2 separate regions of the Homo sapiens genome follow, and region 1 is linked to region 2. Evidence: promoter capture Hi-C in 16 types of primary human blood cells and fetal thymus (Javierre and others, 2016). All regions are on one chromosome and are shown on one strand. The core of a region is centred on a gene start or on the middle of the fragment in contact, and the rest is flanking DNA. Distances in the headings are between cores, read along the strand shown.

Region 1 (6,664 bases), core at 1,075-3,574, 2.7 Mb after region 2:
TAATCCAATGATAAAGTTAAGGTTAAGCAAAACTAAGTTATTAGCAGATATAAATGAAGGTAGAAGTGTTTTCAACTATATTTATCAGAATGAAACAGAGACCTCATCATTCCCCATATGATGAAATACATTGAGAATATTATATTTCACAAATGAGATATAATATTTGATAGCACAGGAAGGTGACTATTGTCAAGAATAATCTATTGTATATTTAAAAATAATTATAAGAGTGGAATTGGAATGTATTTAACAAAAAGAAATCATACATGCTTGAGGTGATGGGTACTCCAATTACCCTAATGTTATTATTATACATTATATGTATGTATCAAAAGATCACATGTACCCCATGAGTCTATACACCTGGTATGTACCCATAATAATAAAAAAAAATAAAATGTTAAAAATAACATTATATAGGCCGGATGCAGTGGCTCACACCTGTAATCCCAGCACTTTGGGAGGCCGAGGTGGGCGGATCACGAGGTCAGCAGATTGAGACCATCCTGGCTAACACAGTGAAACCCCGTCTCTACTAAAAATACAAAAAAAAAAAAATTAGCTGGGCGCTGTGGAGGGCGCCTGTAGTCCCAGCTTCTCAGGAGGTTGAGACAGGAGAATGGCATGAACCCGTGGGGTGGAGTTTGCAGTGAGCCGAGATCGTCCCACTGCACTCCAGCCTGGGCGACAGAGCAAGACTCTGTCTCAAAAAAATAAAAAAATAAAAAAAATAAATAACATTTCTGAGTTTTTTCCTATTTTTAATTCTATGACACCTATATACTAATAGTATATGTAGCTATTCTCAACTGAAAAGAATATAGCAGTAAATTTTAAATTTTATTAAGTAGTGTTCTCAGGATTTTAGAAGCTATCTAGCTAGACAACTTAAGTCAGTTAGGTTGTATAACATTTTGTCACCAAAGACTTCTACTCATAGCTCTACTTTTATCTGTTTTATTAAGCTTCTTTGTAAGCCTTTGAAGAAAATAAAGAACTCTTGCTAAAACAAAACAAACAAAATAGTATCTGAAAATTTATCCATCAATATACAAAGACAAAAACAGGAGGAAAAAAAGACAAACATTTGGGTGTTTAAAACAGAGACTAGGTTACTCAGATGATGGAAGAGCCTGAGGAAACAAACAGTTGTCAGGGAAACAACCCAAAAATAGCAACTGCAGTAGGCCACTACTTCCATGCCCAGGCAAGAGGAACAAAAAGAAAACATGAGCTAAAAAAGAACTTAGGACTTGGGGTCACTTGACCTTTCTATTTCAGAGCTCCACCTTCTTTTCTGTAAAGCACATTTTCCAGCTGACCTCTTAAAAAGGACTTTTTTTTTGGCTGTGTAAAAGGTTTTTGAAAAGACTAATAGATTCAACTAGGTTTCCCTACTTGCCCTGGAAATTATCACTGTGGCAAGGGGTAGGGCATCCTGACAACTAAGGCTTAGGTCATGTGCCATGTGGTTAGTCACAGGACCAGGAGTGTGTTATTTCAATGACAGGGATATGGAATCAGCTTTAACAAAACCACAAGGTCCAAGATTATCATGGGATAAGAATGGTGAGAGGAGGTAGGTGTTTTCCAAAAGAAAGAATGCTTCAGGACAAAACAACACAGTTATTACCATTAGAAATATTCATGCTCATTGCACAAAACTTAGATTACTGAAGAGGTATATTCTATTCATAGCATACTAACTGTAACTCCACCCACTCAAAAAGCATATTGGAAAACAAACGAGTGAGGTACTAAATTAGAAATTTTCTTGAGTCCCTCACATTTGTACATATTTCAAAATTAAAACATTGTAAACTTTTGTTATTTAAATATTACCATTAAACTTTATGATCCTTTTATATGACACATACCTGTCTATTGGGACCACAATTTAAATTTGATGTTTTAAAAAGGGGTAGTATCAACTCCACGTCTTTTTTCAGAAACATCACCATTATCCAATGCTTTAATTGCACAGCAATTAAAGTGTCCAGAACTTATTTTTGGGTGGGGAAGGTGGAAGAATGAGGAGCAGCAGACTCCCCAACTAACTACTGGCTTCAGCAAGCAGCAGTGGCCACTGTTGTATCAGAAAAAGAAAAGGAAAAGGAAAAGCTGAGAATAGGGAGAGTCATTCCTAGTGTCAGCAATTATTTTGAATGGGTCACCTTGATGGATTTGGTATGGAAGAAGGAAAAGAAGCTTCTCCGGGTGCCTCGGTCAAAGCTAGGTTTTCACTTAAGTGGGCAGTTATATATTTATGTAAGATATTTACAATTCAAGTGGCACATACTGTTAAATATCAGTATTATTTTTACATCTGAAAAATATGCACCATATCTAGTCTTACAAAATTATGATTTTTTTAATATTTCCAAGTTTATATTATTCAACAGCAATAGAATTTAAAAAACTGCAAAGAAGCTTCAAAAAGTGATTAGGAATCAACATCATATTACAGGGAAAATGAGCATAAAATTCACTAACAGCTTTTCATCACCTATATCATGCATAAATACTACAATAATAATACACATGACAGAGAGTATCTGCTTAGTTATCACAGTATTGTGATCCTGAGAAGTTTTTCATTCTAAATTTCATTTCAGAGGAATATAAAAATAATACAGCAGTAAAATTAAATAGCAATGGAAAATAATGAGAGAAGGAAAAGGCATTAGTTATGTGAGTAGGAAAGCGTTAAGAATGCTTTAAAGTGAAATTACACTTACAATACATGGAAGGTCAATGAGGCACATACAGAAAAGTTGTAGTAAAGGTGTAGGTTTTAATATCATATGAATCTGTTCCTTTTGTAGGTAGAAGGTATGAGATCTATGACTCAAAAAGAGATAAAAGATGAAGTTACTATGTATGAAAAGCATATTTTGATTGTATTTACAGTGATTTCAAAAACTAAAGATATTTTTCAAAAATGAAATTGAATTCACCATTATTACTTATAGTGTATATTATTTTTAAATAGTCATTTCTCCATTTCTCTAAACCACTGCCTATAGGCGGCTTTTAACTTACAATTGTCTACAATTGTTATAGAAACACATATATAACTTAATAGCCATCAGCTTCGGCTTCCATAGTATATTTTTCTGACTCTGTTCATAAGCATTAAGAAATTTAATTCTTCTGAACGCTTATTTTAATTGATACTATTTGATGCACTTTGAGTTTTTTTAGAGAAATTGAATTTCATTCACACTTAGGAAAGCAGGCAGCTAACATCAAACTCAAAAGACATTGGTAACTGATAATTTATTACATACATTTCCTGATGTCTCTCTTTAGAATATAAAATGTATACATCATAATATTACATATTGAACCATGTTTGATTTTGTTCTCTGGACCCTTGATAATCAACAGACTCTAGAAATAGAGGTCTATAGGACAAAGCTCCAAATATAAAGCTATACTCTTCCTGTTTTCCGCCAAATGTAGTTGTAGTTTTAACTTTGTCATATATTAAAATCAACATTTATCCACAGCAGGAATCATTGACATGCTACAATTTTAATTTTTGATGATATAAGTTAAAAGTATTTGCCAGTTCCTCTGTCACATAAATGTTTACTTTCCAAGACAGGCAGAAATCATCCAAGGCTCTTCCTTGAGAAAAAAAGATTGTTCGAGTTGGGAAATAACCACGTTCTTATTTCTTGTTTTTGCTTTATATTTATTTTTGCACTACTGCTTTTACCAGTGAGAGTTCTAAACTTGATAAAATGTTAGACTTCAAATTTTACCTTTCTGAATAAAACTTTCCCCAGATCTTCACGAGCTGTGGAAATATTTGACTTTGTTTATACACAGAACTGGGGAGAAAAGCACTAACAATCTAGTTCCATAAATTATTTCCAAGAAAATGATTGCTTTTTGAAAAAAATAAATTAAAAATATCTTATTTTGTTCTGTAATTTTCTGCCACTGTAAGAATACAAAATGCAAATACAGATACAAAATAAGAAAATATAAAAAACACAAAAAGTACTTTTGGTGCATATTTACTGTAGAGAAAATGTTAATAGAACACAGAAAAATTCTGTAATATTTACCAGAAAAGCCAAACCCAAGAAGGTTATTACTAAATCTGATTTATGTTCCTCTACTGTAGCACTTATTATGGGAAGTTCAATATTGGTGAAAAACTTTCTGATGGTACACAGTCAATTTTCAAGTAATCTACTAAAAGTATTTCTTAAATAAAAGAGTGTGAGCTACTGAAGACAGAAATATGCTAGAAATGATTTTTAAGATTTCTAGTATATGTAGTTTATTATGTTGAAATAAAAATAATGGGATTATGCATTGTCCACTGGAGTTAAGCAACTTAGATACTAGTTACCCTCCCATATAAGCCTATCTATTTTTAATCACTAGGTACTAGTTACCCTCCCATATAAGCCTACCTATTTTTAATCACTGGGTATGTGATTCTTAGTTATCTATAAAGGTTAAAGAATGACATATTACCTAACTGAACTCAGAAGAATAGGACAGATAATTTCTGCAATTAATGATTCTACAAGTAGCATTCCTTCTAAGAATTATGTAGTATAATGATATAAATAATTTACAATGAACACATTCATTGCACATAGAGATATTTTCCACATTAGGTGAGTATTTTTGAAATATATACATATATGTTTATATATATATATATATGTGTGTGTGTGTGTGTGCATGTATTTTTTTTTTTTTTTTTGAGCACTTATTCTGTTCCCAGGCATGAGTGTTGGAAATATGATTGTAAGCAAAATAAAAAATGCACTTGCTCTCATGGACATAAATAGATGAGGAAGAAAATACAGATGCAAAATATATACATAAGTAATTAAGTATTATCTAAAGAAATTAATTCTGTTAATTGAGTGGAGATTGACTCCTTAAGTGGCCTTTCAGAAAAGAACTGAATGACATGAGGGCAAACCATACTTAGCACTAGGAAGAATGAAACAATTACTAATACATGTTCCATTGCCCTAAAGTTCTCACTGTCTCTGAGAAAAGACAGACATATGTCCAGTCATACAAGATAGATACAATAAGTGCCATTAAAGGTAAAAAAAAAAAAAAAAAGGCCTCAGAAGGAGACACAGGGTGAAATGATTTTCATCTTGTAAAAAGGAGAAGTTCTATGGAGAACATGACATTAGTGCAGTATACTGGAAAATATGTGGATGAACTCAGTAAGTGGATTTTACCAAAACCCTAAAATGCCATGTGAATAGAAATATGAATAAAACAAAATAAAATGTAGGATTTCATCAATAGCAGCAAGTCTGTACTATTGAATATTGATTTTATATTTCGGAAATGGCCAATATTAAACTAGAGCCAATTCTAGTTTGATGGAACTTCTTTGGTCAAAATAAAATGTGACAAAAAACAAGCGTTTCATGTAGTTTGCATATTTACAAAAGTATATTCTCTAGTCATGCACTTTTCCTTGCTGCTGTTTCCACTACCCAGAAAGAGTGACTATGCTGGAAAAATATATCACAAGTGAAGAAAACAGAAGTATAATTAAGAGGATATTTTTGTCACAAGACGTTTACAGAAATAACATCACTTTCAGTAAAGGATAGGTACCTGTAATTGCTTTGATAGCAAACATTAGGGTTAAGTGAATAATGCTCAAAATCATGTTTACTCACCTCTAATTTAAAATAAATAGAATATTATTCAACCATGAAAAAGAATGAAATCCTGTCATTTGCAACAACATAGATGGACTGTAGGGCATTATATTAAGCGTAACAAGCCAGTCACAGGAGAACAAATTTCACATATTCTCACTTATATGTGGAAGCTAATTGTTTTTAAATATGATCTTATGAAAATAAAGAATTAAATGATGGTTACCAGAGGCTGGAAAGGGTAGCAGAGAGTAGGGGATAAAATGGAAATGGATAATATACATACAGTTTGTACAAAGGTACATAATGTACAAACATACAGTTAGAATGAATAAGATCTTGTGCTCAGTAGCACAATTAGGTGACTACAGTTAACAATAATTCATTGTATATTTTAGAACAACTAAAAGGATGGAATTGGAATGTCCCTAACACATGGAAATAATAAATGCTCAAGGTGATGTATACCCCAATTACCCTGATTTGACATTACAGACCCTAAGCCTGTATCAAAGCATCACATGTATCCCATAAATATGTAAAACTATATGCATTCATAATAATTAATAAAATACAACTTAAAATTTTAAATGAATGTATGCATCTATTCTCTACTTTCTAAAGATCATGGTGTAAATATGTGACAGTCATTATAGAAATTTTTAGAAAAACTTTACCCAGAGTTTGGATTATAAAATTATCTGGGCCGGGCTCTGTGGCTCATGCCTATAATTCCAGCACTTTGGGAGGCTGAGGCAGGTGGATCATCAGGTCAGGAGACTGAGATCATCCTGGCCAACATGGTGAAACCCCGTCTCTACTGAAAATACAAAAATTAGCTGGGCATGGTGGTGCACGCCTACAGTCCCAGCTACTCAGGAGGCTGAGGCAGGAGAATCGCTTGAACCCAGGAGGCAGAGGTTGCATTGAACCAAGATCATGCCACTGCACTCCAGCCTGGTGACAGAGGGAGACTCCATCTCAAAAAAAAAAAA
Region 2 (6,939 bases), core at 1,801-4,300:
TTATTAGGCCTCCCAACATAGCAAAAAAATTTAAATGAGCCACTTTTCGCGCACTATGCATGCTCTCTGGAAAGACCATTTAAGAAGCTGCAGTCTTTTTTTGAGGTACAGATGGCCATTTGATAGGCTTTATATTAATTACATTGCAGATTTTATCTGTGACAGAGGGAAACCCTGTAATAAAAAAAATCCTGAGGCTGGGCACGGTGGCTCACACCTGTAATCCCAGTACTTTGGGAGGCTGAGGCGGGCGATCACCTGAGGTCGGGCGTTCGAGACCAGCCTGACCAACATGGAGAAACCCTCTCTCTATTAAAAATACAAAATTAGCTGGGCGTGGTGGCGCATGCCTGTAATCCCAGCTACTCGGGAGGCTGAGGCAGGAGAATCGCTTGAACCTGGGAGGCGGAGGTTGCGGTGAGCCGAGATCACGCCATCTCATTCCAGCCTGGGCAACGAGTGAAACTCCATCTCAAAAAAAAAAAAAAAAAAAAAAAAAATTCCTAAATGAAAATAAAGCTATTAAAAACATTAACTTTGGTTAGGCATATTCCTAATGTAAACCTCCTCATCTTTCCAAAATACAGGCTGTGCTTGCTTCATTTTCTTGTTAATATGGGTGATTCCACTTAAGAAACTAATATAATGGGATCCTTAATTGGGGGTACAGAATAATAGCCATTACATAATCTTTATATTAACTATACTACATATTTTATTTGTTGTAGAGAAAAACTATGTAAAAAAAAAAACTCCTGTTGCTATATAGACTAAGACTAATTCTGACATTTAGCTTTGAAAGACAGCATGAGGAGTAATCATGAAAATCAATCTTAAGTGAATAGTAGCATAGCTAATATTGCTAATCACTTTGGGATTTTTATTTGCAACTGAGAATTGTGCTATTGTGCAATTTAGATATACTATAATTTTTAACTACAGAGGCTATACTATGAAGATCTGATTCAGAACTTGATAAATATCCTGATTATTCCCTATGCATGTTTTCAGAATGAAGCAAAGCATCCTCCCTTTTCAAACTGGCACTCTTCCCCAACCTTGAGGACCACTAGGCACTTTGTTTTTAAAGCCACAGTAAGTATTTTAATAAATATGTTGTGTTATATGTATGTTATATAGCGCACATACTTTTGAAAGAATGAGTTCTTTTTACAATTGTATTGAAAAAACTCCTTCACTTTACTTGGGACAAGCAAATAAACTAACAACATCATATTGTTTTCCGAGGTTACTTTTATGGAGAAGTATTGTTATGAAAAAAGGGAGGCATCTGAGGAGTGGAAACAGAGAAATGAGTGACTGAGATCAGTGTCTTATTTTGACCATCTTTTCCAAGTGCTGCATCCTCCCAAACACAACATGAACTCAACACTTAATAAAGCTGCAGTCCTACGTGTTTTATTTGTGTAAGAAACTAAGTCCAAAACATTCTGCAACGCGAGTAAAAATTCACTTCTGCAATATATTAAACACACATGAACACAGTGTTTTCAGTTTGAAGCAAGATACTGTGGACTCTAAAATATCCAGTAACTATATTTAGTATGAAGAGTGGATGTTTATATCTAGTTGGCCAACACATTGATTCTAGTCATCCACTTAGGAAGAAGAGGGTGTGGCAAATCTGCAGCCTAGGAAAACACAAACTCAGTTTCTTCGTAATAGATACTGATTCGTTTTGTTTACAAAGATTTTAAAAAACAGTTATGCATTCAAATACTTTAAAAACGAAAATAACTTTATGGTTTGATTTATTTCCGTTGAATTTTAAAGAACTTTGTAGCAAGGTTTAAGATTGCTTAAAGAGCCTGAGTTCGGATTCCTAAAATAGTGCATTGGGAAGGAAGCATAAATCTCTAGGATATTTTCTTCACATTATCTTCAGACATGACCAAATGAAGTGTAACTACCCTTACACTCTAAGAGAATTAAACTATAATGACATATGTGGCATGAAACTTTAGTCTTTCTCTGGAAAAAACGGGAGGAGGGAAGGTTTGGAAGAACTAGAGGATACTAGTTTCATCATGAATTTGGTGATTTGTTCCAAAGTAAATTGCAATAAAAATGAGGGGTGGGGAAAAATGATGGAAAGATAGCTGTGAAGAGCTTTACTTAAAATTGTCTTAGCTGTTTAGCTAGGAACTGTAATTAGAAGGACTGGAGGATGTATTCCGCTGGCTTTATTCTCCAGGCTCTACGGGCCCTCCAATTTGAATAAACCTGGAAAACTCTCCTGACCTCTATTTCTTTGACAAAACATCTTTCTTTCGTGGTGACTTCCAAGGGAGGAAATTGGTACCCCAAGCTAGCCGTGAGGACCCCACCACATGCCCAAGGCATTGAACGCCAGACTCCCTAAGGACTCAGGGATTCTAAAAGTCCCCTCTCAAATCAGCGCCTAAAATACGCCTGTACAGCCACGCGCTACCGCTCCCAGCAGCGCGGGACTTCGGGACAGGGACAAGGCGGACGCTAGGCGTGCGCCCCCGGGGAGCCCCCACGTTCCGGCCACGCCCACCCTGGCCCTGGGCAGCCGCGCCCGGGAGGCCTGGCACCGAGGCGGGCGGGTCCCCGAGTTAGGGGCCCGCGAGTCGGCTGGGCGCCCCCGCCTCTGCCCGGGCAGTGCCCCGCCGAGTGCTCAGAACTGCGGACAAATAGGCTGGAGGGCCGGGCCGCGGAAGGCGTTCCCACACCGGCCAGTCTCCGTCCACCAGGAAGCAAACTCCTCGTACCTCCCTGGGGACCGAAAACTGCCGGTGCCGCCGCACCCGTCGCCGCCGCCGCCTGCTCATGGAGAGCCCGGGCTGCCGCCGCCGCCGCCGCCGCCGCTGCCTCATCTATGAGTACCGCCGGCTGTCTCGGCCTCCCCCGGCGTGAGTTCTGGGCTCTGGCATGGCCTCCATGGCAGCCGCCGCGGCGGGAGCCACAGCAGCTCCAGCGCCCAGGCCCAATCTCACTGGACCCACGGAGCCAGGACAGTGGGACACGTCGCTTCTTATTACGGAGGAAGATTCGGCACGACCTCCGCCCCCCTCCCCCCAACCCCCCCGTTTTCAGCCGCCTGACAGCGCAGCTGCGCAGGCGCGAAGACGCCCCAGCCTAATGTGCGTGTGTCGGCTGTGTATACAGCATCCAGATTCGCCCAATGGGAACCAGGATCAGGTGTGGGGGGCGGGACCTCGCAGAGAGGGGCGGGGTTCCACTGGTAGAAGGTGGGTGGGGAAGCCGGAAGTGGGCAGAGTTTGCACGGAGGCGGAGCTTTATTGGCAAACCTGATTGGCTTTTTGAGGTTTGTACCATTTTAGGACTTGATTTTAGTTTGCTTCTGGGTCTTGTTTTCTCAAATTCTTAACCTAGAAAGAAAGCTTTGTTTTCTCAGTAAATTACGGTTTTTTAAGCGTTTAAGTATTTACTTAGAAAACAGTTGAATTGATCTGTTAAATGCCAGCTTTAGTGTTCAAGTTAATTATTGGCCAATATACTGTAACTTACAGTGGAAGTTAACCCCATTTTGAAAAATTAGATTGTTTTAATTCCATTGTGAAGTTGAAAAAATTGGGTTTTGGAGATAATAAGGTCCCACACAGCAAGTGACGGAGCTGGAAATTACAGTTAGGACAACTTAATGCTAGTTTGTGGGCTCAACCACTATTTCTGTTTATTAGGGCCGAGTTTTTGTATCTCCCGTAAAGAAGCAAGGCCCTGTATGGCTCTGCATCTGGAGAACACAGGCCACCCTGCAAAAACTACCTCTCCTTGCAAGTAGGCATGGAGATCTGGTTGAGATTTTCCCCATCCAGCCTTTCAACAAATAATGAGGGTCTGGAAAGTTAGCTCTAACGTTCAGAACACGTGAGGGCTAATGAGAGAGCTCAAGGCTATCCTAGTAAATCAGTGTGGTTTTCCGTCACAGGCTGAGCCTGGGAGAGGCTGGATGCCTTCTTGACCGGTGTGATGGTCGGCCAAAGCTATGGAGGGGAACTTCCTCATGGATCTCTCTAAAAAAGTCTAGAAATGGAAGAGAGACTTCCATTTCTTGAGTTTTGGCTCTGCCCAAAAAAGAATAATTAATAGCTCTGGCAAAGCCTGCTCTTTTTAGTTTCCTGTTTTTTCTTATTTCTTATGGTATTTTATAGATGAGGAAACTGAGGCTCTTAGAGATAAACTAGTGTGTTGGAAAACTTGCAAAAAGTTCACTCTCAATATTAATCCTCTCCTACAGGTAGAAAAGCCCTTTAAAAATGTTTGTAAATGTGGATTATGTGTTTAATTATAAATCTCTCACAAGACATGGAGTTCATTTTATACTGATTAGGTCATTCTCTTCCTGAAAACAGCCATAGTATGGTGGATGACACCATTTCTGGAGAATAGTATTGAGATTGCTCATTAAACTCTGCCGAGTCTCAGCTAGATGGAGGAAGCATGGATTCCTTGAATACTTGGATAACTCACAAACATCACTGAGGCCTTTAACTGAAATTTCCATTCTGCATCTTTTCCACCGTCTTCAAAATCTGACATCTGAGTTGTAGGGTTTTTTTAGATATATTTACTGAAGTATAATTGGCATAGAATATATAGAGCATACTTAAAGTGTATAATTTTTATCAGTTTTGACATATGTATAACCCCTTAAACCATCACTGTGATCAAATGAGTATGCCCATCACACTTAAGTTTCTGCTTACCTACCGCCCCCCAACTCTGCCTTTTTTTTTTTTTTTTTTTTTTTTTTTTTTCAGAATCCTGATCTGTTACCCAGGCTGGAGTGCAGTGAATGATCTCGGCTTATTGCAACTTCCGCCTCCCAGGATCAAGAGTTTCTGGTATCTCAGCTTTCCGAGTAGCTGGGATTATAGACGTGCACCACCATGCCTAGCTAATTTTTGTATTTTTAGTAGAGGCAGAGTTTCACCATGTTGGCCAGGCTGGTCTCAAACTCCTGGCCTCAGGTGATCTGCCCACCTCGGCCTCCCAAAGTGCTGGGATTACAGGCGTGAGCCACCACACCTGGCCCTCATTCTCTTAGCAGTGTATTTTGAAGAGAAGTTTTAACTTTTAATAAAGTTTAATTTATTTATTATTTTATGGATTACATTTCTAGTGTTGTTTCTAAGAAATTTTTGCCTACCCCAAGCTCACAAAGAAATTTTCCTATGTTTTCTTATAAAAGTTTTATGTGTTCAAGCTGTACATTTAGATGTATGATGCATTGTAGTTAACTTTCTTATATAGTTTGAGGCATGTATCCAAGTTCATATTTGATGTATGGATACCCAGTCATCGCAGCAATTTTTTTTTTGAAAAGCCTGTACTTTTTCCACTGGGTTGCTTTTGTGCTTTTGTCAAAAATTAGTTGCGCAGCTTGGGCGCAGTAGCTCACGCCTGTAATCCCAGCAGTTTGGGAGGCCGAGGCGGGCGGATCACAAGATCAGGAGATCGAGACCATCCTGGCTAACATGGTGAAACCCCGTCTCTACTAAAAATATAAAAAATTAGCCGGGCATGGTGGCGGGTACCTGTAGTCCCAGCTACTTGGGAGGCTGAGGCAGGAGAATGGCGTGAACCAGGGGGGCGGAGCTTGCAGTGAGCCGAGATCACACCACTGCACTCCAGCCTGGGCGACAGAGCGAGTCTCCATCTAAACAAAAAAACAAAAACAAAAAAATTAGTTGCCCAATACCATTTTATAAACACTTTATTTATTTATTATCAATCATCAACCATATGTCACACAGTATGCTAGCAGTGGAGATATCAGTAAGTGTTCTTTGGTTGCAAAGACTGGAGACCAATATTGTTAATTTAAATAGGACATTTTTGGGGTTTTTTTTTGTTTTGTTTTGTTTTTTTTTTGAGACAGACTCTCGCTCTTTCGCCCAGGCCGGACTGCAGTGGCGCTATCTCGGCTCACTGCAAGCTCCGCCTCCCAGGTTCACGCCATTCTCCTGCCTCAGCCTCCCGAGTAGCTGGGATTACAGGCACCTGCCACTGTGCCCAGCTAATTTTTGTATTTTAAGTAGAGACGGGGTTTCACTGTGTTGGCCAGGCTGGTCTTGAATTCCTGACCTCAGGTGATTCACCCGCCTCAGCCTCCCAAAGTGCTGGGATTACAGGTGTGAGCCACTGCTCCCGGCCTTCTACTAGTCTCAATAAGTCCTCTTTAGAATTCAAATTATAATGCTCAGTTACATTACTAGTAAACTATTTTTAATCTCATTTTTCCAAAAGCTGAATTTTTGCTTTAAATCTATAAACTTTGTTGGTAGATGTTTAAAAAGGTCCAGACTCCACCACAACAGATAATCCAGTAATTATCCTGGGATGTAAAAATATCTGAAAAGATGAGAGGAAGACATTGATATCTGAACTTAAAGTTACAGAGCCTGTTTGGAGAGGCTATGTGACAGACACAACCAGCCCATAATTACCCCTCAATGAGAGGCCTTGAGAAAGAAATATCCTGATATCACTTTTCTCCTCCCTCTGATATAATGATGTGTTGTCATTATTTCTATTATTGTATACCGTTTGAAAGTGACACATTTTCTATCGCCCTTGCTTTGTTGATTGACAGTTCTGACAGTTTCCATGCTGGTTGACAAAACAAGTGATTCTGCAGTTGCATAAAGTTACATCTATTTTACTCCTGTCATTTGTGCTGTGCTTGCTGTACATTTTTACTGCTATATGGGAATTTAAGAAATAATTTTAAAGTGTTTATTATTATTATTAATTTATTTTTTGAAACAGAGTCTCACTCTGTTGCCTACCACACTGCAGCCTCATCCTCCCAGGCTCAAGGGCTCCTCCCACCTCAGCCTTCCAAGTAGCTGGGACTACAGGTGTATGCTACCATGCCCGGCTAATTTTTTTTGTATATTTTTTGTAGAGAAGGGGATTCACTCCATT

What was found. Contacts are between HindIII fragments. The CHiCAGO score rates a contact against its expected background, and 5 or more counts as called.
Region 1: a fragment that was not itself captured here is called in contact with the fragment with the promoter of DORIP1 in region 2 in 1 of 17 cell types (M0 macrophages); the score reaches 5.8 in M0 macrophages.

The regions. Positions count from the first base shown.
Region 1 is chr14:42,209,935-42,216,598 of GRCh38, reverse strand. No RefSeq gene overlaps it. Among named protein-coding and RNA genes, the nearest start is that of LRFN5, 610 kb to the right of the region's middle. The HindIII fragment of the contact is 222 bases long and covers 2,214-2,435 here.
Region 2 is chr14:44,893,386-44,900,324 of GRCh38, reverse strand. DORIP1 (dopamine receptor interacting protein 1) reads right to left here and starts at 3,050. Exons shown (of 5, transcript NM_001017923.2): 1 at 2,757-3,050. It overlaps LOC101927418 (a long non-coding RNA gene), which reads left to right. Exons shown (of 3, transcript NR_110050.1): 2 at 1,012-1,095; 3 at 1,249-1,417. RefSeq lists silencers at 2,396-2,715, 2,736-2,865 and enhancers at 2,232-2,731, 3,356-3,405. The HindIII fragment of the contact is 3,873 bases long and covers 1-3,391 here.